Regions from separate parts of the Homo sapiens genome. Here region 1 is linked to region 2. Evidence: promoter capture Hi-C in 16 types of primary human blood cells and fetal thymus (Javierre and others, 2016). All regions are on one chromosome and are shown on one strand. Each heading gives the region's core, a stretch centred on a gene start or on the middle of the fragment in contact. The rest is flanking DNA. Distances are from core to core; before and after follow the strand shown.

Evidence for each region. Contacts are between HindIII fragments. The CHiCAGO score rates a contact against its expected background, and 5 or more counts as called.
Region 1: a contact is called between a fragment that was not itself captured here and the fragment with the promoter of IQUB in region 2, in 1 of 17 cell types (total CD4 T cells). The highest score is 6.0, in total CD4 T cells.

What each region holds. Positions count from the first base shown.
Region 1 is chr7:120,933,177-120,939,244 of GRCh38, reverse strand. No RefSeq gene overlaps it. Among named protein-coding and RNA genes, the nearest start is that of ING3, 15 kb to the left of the region's middle. The HindIII fragment of the contact is 2,156 bases long and covers 646-2,801 here.
Region 2 is chr7:123,533,219-123,539,056 of GRCh38, reverse strand. IQUB (IQ motif and ubiquitin domain containing) reads left to right here and starts at 4,462. Exons shown (of 13, transcript NM_178827.5): 1 at 4,462-4,565. It overlaps LOC124901740 (a long non-coding RNA gene), which reads right to left and starts at 4,526. Exons shown (of 2, transcript XR_007060507.1): 1 at 3,632-4,526; 2 at 2,798-3,452. It overlaps NDUFA5 (NADH:ubiquinone oxidoreductase subunit A5), which reads left to right. Exons shown (of 5, transcript NM_005000.5): 5 at 1-2,060. RefSeq lists an enhancer at 3,576-3,715 and silencers at 3,786-3,915, 3,996-4,145, 4,166-4,395. The HindIII fragment of the contact is 3,094 bases long and covers 2,006-5,099 here.

The DNA of each region.
Region 1 (6,068 bases), core at 474-2,973, 2.6 Mb after region 2:
CATTCCCCAAATTTTTGTCTGACTGTGACAAAAAAAAATAATAATGTGTTGCAACCAGTAAACTTCAAACTAGATCCTATCGGTTGTAGGATTGTAGCATCAGAAAAATTCACAGCCCTACCATATCTCTTGTGTGAACACAATGCTTTTTTTTTCCATGAAAGTTTAGGACATGAAGAACAGAAATGTGGTCCTGTGAGAGGTTTTGGACAACTCAGAGACCCCAAATCTTCAAATATTTCTGAGCTTACACTGCCATAAAAATAAAAACACCTCTTTTTTTTTTTTTTTTTTTTTTTTTTTTAGAGAAGGCCAAATACAAAGTCAAACTTAAGATGAAAAGGTTAATGCACCCACATATGCAAGATTTTCTAACTTATATCAGCAAATAATAGGGAGAATGGAATTGTAAATGCATTGTGAAGATGCTCAACTAAGACAAGAGAAACAAGTTTAGGTTGGGCTGAATTTTTCCACGTGGGGGCATATGCCAGTGAATCTGGTTCTTGTAGGCTTAAGCAGTTGGAAGCAGTTCTGTTTGACTAGTTGACTAAATAAGTATTTAACGGTGGCCTGTATTTAATGGATTGAGGTGCCAAAAATTCCTTGGAGAGATGAACCCAAGACTTAGGGAGATAGGAAGCTTGGAATGAATTTATAAAATACTCTTCTTTCACCCTCCTCCTAATCACATCTGCTGAGTATGTCTGAAGACTTTCCCTTTATCAAGACACTGGGAAATGTATTTTGAGCACATCAGTAACTTTAAAAAATGTTCTAGGGGAACAACATTCTTTGTAGGCTAAGGAAGCTGGTAGAAGATGCTGCAGTTGGTATGAACTCTTTGATTGCAGCAGGGATGCTAGGATCCAAGATAGCATGGGCCAAATAGCCACATTTAACTACCGGGGCGAAGTGGGCTTAGTCCTCTTAATATCTCCATGGCCTGAGTGGTAATCTGAATGATCTGACCTTCAGTAATGTTCAGGGATTGATGGCTGAATGTTAATCAGGTTCATATAAATTAGTAGATGGACAACACACTAAGGCTGTCTTTATTCTCTCTAACCAAAAACTCGAGGTCTGGGGAGAACAGGATCTTAATTGGAACCACCATATTAGAATCTGAGACCTGAATTAGTTTATACATCTAGATTCCCTTTAATGATGGGGAGATTGATGCACTTGAAAAGGGACCTTGCATCATTGTAAGGCCATGCCATTAATTTTTTTTTCTAGCCTTCTCCAAAGACACAATTTACACTTAGGTGAAATATACCTACCTTTTCTGAGACTATTGGATACTGCTCTTAACTAATTGTTGCTTCCTGAGTACAAAGAATTCTACAGTTCACAGATGAATGTAGGTAGTTCTAGGATTCATGTGAGTAATGTAGTTTTCAAGGAACTCTGCCTCATAGTACACCTACTACTCCTCTGAACTCAGTCTTTGATAATTCATCAGTTCCTTAATGTAATGTTGAAATAGCTATTCACATACTGCGCAATTGGGAGAATCTCTGCTTTGAAACAATACTAGGAAAGGGCCAGTGGAAATTACTTTATCCTTCGAGCACTATCCAATTCTCAAGTGATAACACATTTCAGGAATACCAGAGAGATCAGTGCCACCATTAAACCTTGAAGACATCTGTCTAGTCCACACTGGACAAATCTACCATAATCTGTCTGTATGATTGTAGCAGTGTGCTACCTGGCCTTCCTGCCTCCCTCTTCCCCTTCCTCTTTACTATCCATTCTCTACATGAGTAGCACATAGTTATCCTCCTAAAAGGTATGTCAAATGACCTTTCTCCTCTCCTCACAACCCTCCAATGGTTTACCGTTTAAGTCACAGCAAAAGCCACGGTCCTTACAATGGCCCACAAGGCCCCAAATGACCTGACTTCCTGTCATCTCTCTGTTGTCATTTTCTTCTACTCCACCTCATTCACTGCACTATAGCCATGACAACCTCCTGACTCTTCCTTGAACACACCAGGCAGGTGTCTACCTAAGGACCTTTCTGTCAGCTGTTTCCTCCAGATATGTCTGCATGACTTGCTTCCTCCACTACAACTCTGTTGATATCAGTCAAATTACGTCCTTCTAAGTAAGATTTTCTCTAGCAACCCTATTTAAAATTTCAACATCCCCCCAATTCCTTGCCCAACCAAGTACTCCTGCTCTTTTCTTTATTACAGTCACTTAATGATGAGGAGACGTACTGAGAAATGAATTGTTAGGCGATTTTGTCATTGTGTGAACATCAGAATGTACTTATGCAAACATAGTTGATATAGCCTACTACACACTCAGGCTGTTCAGTATGTAGCCTATTGCTTCTATAGCATGTTACTGAACTGCATACTATAGGAAATTGTAATACAAATAACTAAGCAATAGGAATTTTTAGCTCCATTGTAACTATGAGACCACCATCGCATATGTGGTCTGTCATTGACCAAAATGCCATTATGTGGTCCATGATTTTATATATATATATATAATTTATTTGTAAGATAATAAGATTATATATGGTAAACATATTCATATATTTTATGTATAGAAAAATATACATATAAGATACAGATCTTATTTATATATAGCTATATCTTATACAACATATAAGATTAGACATATATCTTATTGATTTGTATTTTTGTCTTTTGCTCACTAGAATGTGAACTCCATGAGGACAGGGATTTTTATTTTATTAACTGTTGTACATAATTACTGAGAAGTGTATCTGGCATATATTAATAGCTCCATAATTATTTATTATGGAATAACGAGAAGCTTAGTGGTTCTGATATTTGTTCCATTGCCATTGAGCATAAGACATCTTTGCAAGAATGAAAGCAGACTTTCAAAGTTAAATTGTATGGTGATGCAAATTGCTACTATTGTTTCAGATGTGGTCTATTTATAGGAGCAAGTCAGCCCATACTCTGGGACCTGGTATGCAACTATTTATCTATGAAATGTTATTTTTTTTCTATATCCCAATAAGCCAGAACAGTGAAAAAAGGTGTCTTTCATCTAGAAGGGACAGCAGTGCACCTTTACTATCTTGCTTCCGCTCCATGCCATAGTTTAATCCCTCAGGACCTTGATCATTTCAGCGTTTTACTGGACATTACGCTGGCTCACTATATGGTAAAATAATGCTTCCAGGAGTGGATATAAAGAAGTTACAGATGTGAGTCTTTGTATATCAGACAACTTTGGTGAATTCTATCAGAGTTTCTGGCATCTGTTTATTTTTCCAAACTGCCTGAGATTTAACTGACATCACTTAGGCACAATCAGAGGGATGCCTTGTACCCTTGTCACACAGTGGGCTTCTTCCACTTTGTATCATGCAGTTCTGACCTCCAGCCTGTGCTTCATGTCTCCTACCTCCTGCTTCTGCTACATGATCACATCTATGCATGCACACCCTGCAGAAAAGTTAACACACTGTAGGGAAAATCTTTGACCACTGGAGAGTGGCAACCAATGAGTTTCTCCACCTCCCAGCCTACCCAGTGATTATCCAGAAATGTGCTCTAGATATACACTTCTTGAGGACAAGCAGTAGTACTAAAGAGTGGCCAGGTCAAAACGTCATCCTCTTATATTATCTGTGCCTTCTTCCCTCACACCCTTTTATTTTTTCACCTGTACTCTCTTGGATTTTATTGCCGAATAGTATAATTTCAAATAAGCCATAGGCTCCGTCATGGACTACTCCATCATGATTCCTGACACTTTCTTCTGCAGTAAAGTCAGATAAAAGGTGCATCATTGGGCTAGGCTGTAGCCATAAGAACTGAACAGAATGGAAGCAATGCTAATTATAAGAATTGTAGAGTGGGGCTGCTCTGCCTATGGGGTAGCCATTCTTTTGTTTCTTTACTTCTCTAGTAAATTTGCTTTCACTTAAAGAAAAGAAGAATTGTAGAGTGGGATGACCTGAGATAAGGAACTAGGCATACCAATTCATGGTTATGGTTTAATGATTTGACTAAATGATCTGGGACTTGGGAAAGGCAACGTTAGAGGATTGGTAACGAGGACTTTGGGGGAAATGATATGTATTAGACCCAATGTATGAGAATATTTGTGTCTCATATGAATGTTTACAAAAATACCTCCACAGAAAAATAGGCTTTCTTTAATCAGGTGAGCAAGATGCCCAACTCTGTGGATGTTGTCAGTTACTTTTCCTATTCAACCCTGAGGCTTGCTCAATGGACGTGTGGCAAGGGCAGAAGTTTTGCTTGAGCTCAACAGGAATTTTTCGTCATCCAGATTGACTTGGTAGCGTGATTACTATGTACCAGAAATAATAGCAACAGCAACTAATTATGCCCAGCTTGTGAATATGTTGGACATCTTCCAAGTTAGAAGGAGCAATTATATTTTCTTTAGTGGGATAAAGTCAGTTTTGATTCACTTTCCCTGCCACCATCTATGGATTGACTAAATATCTAATCACAGTCATTGTATCTGACTCAATAATTTATTTCACAGTGAAATAAATAAAGCAATGAGGTAATATTTATAGGATTCACAAGTCTTACCTTATAATAATCTCAAAAGAGTCTGCACTATGAATTGGTAGAATTTTCAAACTTAGATTTAGTGCCACTTGGGAGACACCTTATATGGTTGGTGTATTGTCTTATAGGATGCACTGTATATTTATATCTATATATTTGGAACTAGGAACCAATATATAGAACTGCTTGTCTAGTACCCAGAATGTATTGAGTCCTAGAATGTAAGAATTCAAATGAGAGTGATGTGCTTCCCAAATATTTGATTTCCAATCCTGTGATTTTGCTGGTTTAGATATAGCAATTTATAAGACCTGAATTGTTTCCTTTTTTGTTAGAGGGTGAACTTGCTTTCATTATATGAGGAATAGTGGCATTATGTTGCATTATGTTAAGTTGTTTTTGTTGATGAGTTTTCAGAAGTTTCAGTTTGATAAAGGTATGTGTTAGTGCTGAGAAGCTAATGCAGTGGGCTGTGGTGAGTATTTGTCGTATTTTTGAGCTGTTATGAAATACAGTCTCTAGGTTTGGGGAGTTCTTTATCTTACAGGAACAAAGGCCAGGTAGATTATTGCTTTCCCAGATTTCTTTAAAGCATGCCTTAATTCTTTCAGGCTGCAATAACACAACACCACAGAGTGAGTAATTTATAAACAACAGACATTTATTTCTTACAGTTCTGGAGACTAGAAAGTCCAAGACCAAAGCACTAGTAAATCCTCATAGGGTATAAAGGGCAAACCAGATCCTTTAGTCCTCTTTATAAAGGCAATAATCCCCTCATAAGGGCTTCACCCTCATGACCTAATCACCTCTTAAAGACCCCACCTCTTAATGCTATTGCACTGGGGATTTGATTTTAGTATATGAGTTTGTGAGTGGGGTGGGGCACAAACATTGAGACTATGGCACAGCATGTGACCTCAGCTCTCCCAATCAGATGGACTCACAGGAGACTGAATCAGAAACTGATGAGGAAGCTGGCATCATGAGAAATTCATTCTAAGAGTGGCAGCGTTCACATCCAGAGCAGAGCTGATGGTACAAGTTGCAATTTCCATATTTAGCAGTGATAACTGTGTGTTCAGTTCAGTGCTGTGTTTTTTTAATGTGGCTCTTGGCTGTGGAGCTTCTAAGCCTAGTTTATGAGTCCTGCTGGAGGGTTAATGAGCTTCCTGATGTCTTCTGATAAAATGTATAAACTGCCTGAATTGATTAAACATAGAATCTATTTGTTTTAACCAAAAAACTATTGAAAACAATTTTCTTTTTCATGTTATTTGATTATTCTTTCTTCAAATTCTTGAGTTCAATACATAGTTCATTTATTTTTATTCATTCTTAAGTAATTATGTATGTTTTGTTGTCATTAGTATATATTCCAAATATTCTAAAATTTTGGTTTTGACATTATTTCACTCTATGATTGCTTAACTAGAATTTTGAATTTCTAGGTAGTTGTGAAGATTTTTCTGTATATTTTTTGAATTCTAATTTTATTGCCTGTGATCAGGTAATGTGTTC
Region 2 (5,838 bases), core at 3,213-5,712:
TCTCCCTCATTCTCCCCTCCCCCTCCTTTTCCCTCAGAATTGGGGGATGGAAGAAAAGAGAGCTTATATTTTATTGTCAATTTTCTAATCACATTCAGAGGAGCGAAGCTAATTAAGCCAATAACAATGTTTATGAATGTATCTTTTTTAAAAGGGAGATGACAATATATAGGAAAATTCCCACATGTAGGCTAATAGCAGCTTTTTCTTTTTCCTCCCATCCTCTATGATTATGTAAACATACAGAAGTCTAACACCCTACACAAGTGTATTGTGGGGTATGGGATTAAGTACCAAATTGCTGAACATATCACTAGTATTTTGGATTTGCTGAGTGCAGTCTTCCCATTAAAACTAAGTGTTCAGTAGGGAGGCGTGGTGGCTCACACCTATAATCCCACTACTTTGGGAGGCCGAGGTGGGTGGATCACTTGAGGTCAAAAGTTCGAGGCCAGCCTGGCCAATATGGTGAAACCCCGTCTCTACTAAAAACAAAAACAAAAACTAAGTGTTCAGTGAGATTGTAGCCTATGCTACAACAATAGTAATGCCAATTGTTTTAGAGAAAAGTAAATGAGAGGCTACCAGTTGTGTTTAGAGGAGGTCGACGTTTTATTTTAGACAAAATTCACAGGAAATCACAGTGGGAATGTGATAAGGGGTTTGAATGATTGATGGGGACAGGAAGAATTCATTTGAGAGACTAGAGATGAGTCAGTATTCTAGATCGTGAAGTAAAATAGTGAGTCATGTAGTGACTTAGCATGGGTTATCCTTAAATCCCAGTGTCTTAAGTGTATTTTTTATTCATACTGCATGTCTAAGGAGGGTTGGCAAGGAGTGCTCATAGACCCACAAGGAATCCAGGCTGAGTGTGGCACCATCAACATATATTTCCATGACCATAGTGGTGGTGGGGAATTGGAACATGGTAAATTACACATAGGAATAAAAAAAAAGAAACAACCAAGGTTAAATTTTTTTTTGACTGTGCCACAAAATTTATGAATTGAACTTGCCATGCATCACTAATAATTTTCAAATTGGTCTTTAGGTTTACATTAGCAGCTAATTTTTTGTGGTACACTTAAATGTAATTTATGATTGGCATCTGTATATAATTAAATGAAAAGCATTGCAAAGATTTCTATTTTGGTATTTCTCATGATCTTCAATTTTTTTTTAGGTGAATCTATTAGGTTTTCTAAAGATAACTATTTTTTTTTTTTTACAAAATATTGGCATTTTAATCTCTCTATAACTGGAGGGTGAATTATTTTTCACCAGAGTAAAACAGGTCCAAAGTCCCTTATCTAAATTCCTAATTTCAAAAATCTCTGAAAACAAAGTTTTTTCATAACTCATTTGGCAACAAACCCCACCTGAATTACATGAGGCTATTTGTGGTATTTATCGCACTTCAATGTGAATATGAATATATTTTGCCACAGATGTATCAATATATTTGATTCTAAACTGCTTCCTCAGACCCTCTTAATGTGTTACATAATGTAAAGTATATGCCCATATTTCCTTTCAAAAATCTGAAAAATTGTGAATATCAAACACATCTGTCTTAAAAGGTTTCAGAAAAGGGACAATAGACCTATATTTCCATTCTCTTAACAAGTTCACAAAGTGGTATTATGATCCAAATTTAATCTAAATAATTTCCAAAACAAAAATTTTCAGGTCCTTAGTTTTCTAAATTATTTTAATATTAAAAATATTCATTATTCATTTTAACCTGTAGTAACAACAGGAGATACTTTGAAATGCTTGATTTTATCAAGCCACTAGGTGGCATCTTTGTAAAAATAAAAGCACATCAAAAGAAATGTTTATTACATAAATAAATGCTGAGATGAATAAAGGTAGATGTTTCATGAGAAATACGAAGTCGTTTGGTGGAATAAATCCTGAGAAAATGCATAGATTTATCATGAAAAGGAAAATGGAAAATGGTATTGTAAAATTACTCTTTCACTTTTGGAATTGAGAAGCTTTTTCCTATTGGTTGTTTTCATTAAGTTTGAATATAAATTTATTATGTAACCAAACTACATTTGTGTGTATGTGCGTGTATGTGTGCGTGGACAGGATTTTGACATGCTAATAACTTTTCCATGCTCCACAGACTACCCAAGGAAGCCTAACTAAGTTAGGTTCCTATTTAAGATTAAATTGTATAAAGTCATCCTCACAGCAAACTACAAAAAAAAATGAATAGTGGCTATCAAGTCACATTTAACACTGTGAGACACTTAAGTTCTCTCCTACCAGTTTTTCTTCCCCCATCTCCTGACTCTATTCCTAAACCTACTGTTTGCATACCGTCTCTAACATTGAGAACAGTGAATGACAAATTTTAAAGAGGAGACCCAGCAAAGTGAATGTTTAAAACCAGTGGAATGTTTATTAGTAGCAGAATGTAAGATAAATTATGATTTTGGAGATGGGAGTGTATGAGTGTTTGTAAAATCTTATCTGCACACCTCCACACCTGGTCTACCCATCCAAGAAAGCCTAATTCTAGTGGTTACCTCTATGCCCATTTTTCCCCTTTACTTTTCATGAATGTGTGGAAATGATTAAAATGAATTTACTTTTACTGATCATTATTAAAACAAAGCCAATTTTATCTGAATATATATTTCACTATTCTAGTAAAAATATATTTTAAAATGGGATGACTGAAAAAAATGGCATTGGATATTACAAAGTTATTGGGGAGATGAGAGTGCAATTTCAGCAGAACAGTATAAAGAAATAAATGAAGACAATGAACATTTATGAATAAGGGAATGGACCTGTATTAATTTTATTAATCCTTTTAACATATCAAATCAAATTAAACAGTACTGTAATGGTTAAAAAATCTGGGACCTGGAGTTAGATTGCTTAGGTTTAATCCTGGTTCCCTCATTAAACTTTGTGTGCCTTAGTTTTCTCATTTACAAAATGGGTCTAATAGCAGTTTCTCCCTAATAAAATCGTTGTAAGGATTAAATTAGAAATCTATGTACGGTGCCTCATGACAATGAATACTTCATAAATGTTAGCTGCTATTATGAGATAGCAACATGTAGTTTGTTACTAAATTTCCAAGAGGAACATACTTGACTTGACCTCCAATACTATCCTGTGGTTCTTTAAAAGTTTTCTTATTCATTGATAGGCCGGGCGCGGTGGCTCACTCCTGTAATCCCCAACACTTTTGAAGGCGGATTGCTTGAGGCTAGGAGTTCCAGATCAGCCTGGCCAACATGGTGAAACCCCATCTCTACTAAAAATACCAAAATTAGCCGGGGGTGGTGGCGGGCGCCTGTAATCTCAGCTACTCAGGAGGCTGAGGCAGGAGAATCGCGGGAGCCAGGGAGGTAGAGGTTGCATTGAGCCGAGATCGAACCACTGCACTTCAACCTGGGCGACAGAGCAAGACTCTGTATACACTAGAAAAAAAAAAAAAAAAAAGAATTTGTTGTTAGACAAAATTTAGTTTATTAACTAATTTAGTGATTAACAAAAGTTCTTCTAAGCAGAATTATTTGATAGCTACTATCTCCCTTTTCTCTTTGGCTGCCAGGAAGCTGAGAGCCAAGTTGTTAGTTTAACAAAAGCAAGTAGGCACCTGACAGTTTCTCGCCTCTGACTTCATCGTGATGATTTCTCTGACTCGGATTTTTTTTATATCTGTAAAATTAAACTGCTGTCAGTGTTTGGTTTAGAGAGCTGTGCCGTTTCACAAGTGTAAAAGATCTTGGAGAGAAGTTAGTGTCCTGATTCACTTGGATCTAGGTAGCCAGTTGGTAACAGCCTCCGCCTCTGGCTCCTCCCCTTCTCCCTGCCGCGTCCCTCCTCCCCGCCCCTTCGCCTCTGGCCCCGCCCCTTCTCCCTGCCGCTTCCCTCCTCCACGCCCGCTCGCCTCTGACTCCTCCCCTTCTCCCTGACGCGTCCCTCTTCCTGTCTCTTCGCCTCTGGCTCCTCCCCTTTCTCCTGCCATGTTTCTTCTCCCCGCCCCCTCGCCTCTGGCTCCTCCCCCTTTTCCCTATCGCGTTCCTCCTTTGCAGCCCCCATCCCCCTCCTCTGGCTCCTCTTCTTCCCTACCGCGATCCTCCTTCCAGACCCCGGCCCCCAGCCCGCCTCTAGCTCCTTCCCTTATTTCCTGCCGCGCTCCTCCTTCCCGACACCGCCCCTCCGCCTCTGGCTACTCCTCTTCTCTCCTGCCGCACTCCTCCTTCCCGGCCCCACCTCCCCGCCTCTGGCTCATCCCCTTCTCTTCTGCCGCCCTCCTCCTTCCCGGCCCCGCCCCCAGTCTTTGGCTCCTCCCCCTACCCTGCCGCGCTCCTCCTTCCCGGCCCCTCCCCGCTGCCCTCTTCTGGCTCCTCCCCCCCACCCGCCTCTGGCTCCTCTCCTTCCCACCCCTGCCGTGCTCCGGCAGGAAGAGGTGGTGCCAGGGCCGTTGCTAGGATACGACCAACAGCTGAGAACGCGGCGAGTATGGAAGCTGCGTCTTAGGAGCCTGGGAAAGCACTTCGACGAGAATAGTTTGGTTTCGTACACAGGTAGGAGAACAGATTTTGACTGCGGCCTCCTGGTCCGACGCTTAGATCCAGCCTAGAGCCGGTGACAGCCGCGCTGGACTCTGGGTTCTGTGTGCTGGGCAGTGATTCCCACCTGAGCGCCTGGGGCTGCCTAGTCGGTCAGGAATGTTCCGACTTTACTTTAAAAACCGTGCGAAGCATCTCATCTTTCTCGGCTCCTTTTTTGGCTTCCCCTCTCTGATTTGGGACTTGAACCAGCAGCATCAAGCTAGGAGGTACACCTCACCTCACACCCTGGGTGCTTGTCACGGTAATTGCATAGAAGATGTGTGTATAACCCACACCTGGCACTAGAGACTCTTAGCCTTCCGTGGCCACCATTCTCATATTAAGTCGAGAGATTTTAGACTTTCCTCACCTGGCACTCTCACTCCTTCCTCTCCACCCTTGGTCTTTGCCTCTTAACAAACCTAAAAATTCAACAGATCTATTTGGTAGAAGGCAATACTGGATCCCTGCCTCACTAATTATACTACATTCTAAATGTGTTAAGCTTTAAATGGTAGGGAATGAAATGTAGGTGAAAAGGGAGACTTTTTTGTATGCAAACATGATAGAGGTTGCTTTTTAAACAATAAGATTTAAACATTTTCATTTGAATAGATAATACATAAAAAAATAGTTCGAATAGTAAAAAGAATGAAGAGTGAAAATCCTCCATCTACCCATTTCTCCCCATCTCCAGGCCACCTTCCACAGGTGTTTTAGACATACGCAAATATGTAGTTACACCTGTAACATTGTGCATACTCTTCTGTGATTGGCTTTTACACTTAAGACTGTGTGTCCAGTTGTTTTCTATCAATATTTACAGATCTGTCTCATTTATGCATTTATGGATGAATTTATGTATTTATGTTTCATTGTGAGAAGGTGTTTCGAAGCATGTCAGGAAATTTGGAAACTCTCATAAGCAAAAAGATTGATAAATGTCACTACCTAACAATCTAAAACTTTTATATAGTAAGAGAAAAACAACATCAAACATACAATGGGAAATATAAGGGCAACACACAACAAAGGGATATTTAATTATTAGGACTCATAAAACAATATGAGGATGTAAGGAAACAGTCAAGGGGAACTTCTTGGGGCTATAATAGAAAACAGTTTGATGGAATTTAACAAAATTAAGATCTGTATGCCCTTTGACTTGTCCATTCTAATTCTGGGAACTCATTTTCAGTATACTTACACATATATACAGAGATAGATGTATAAAATGTTTGTTGCA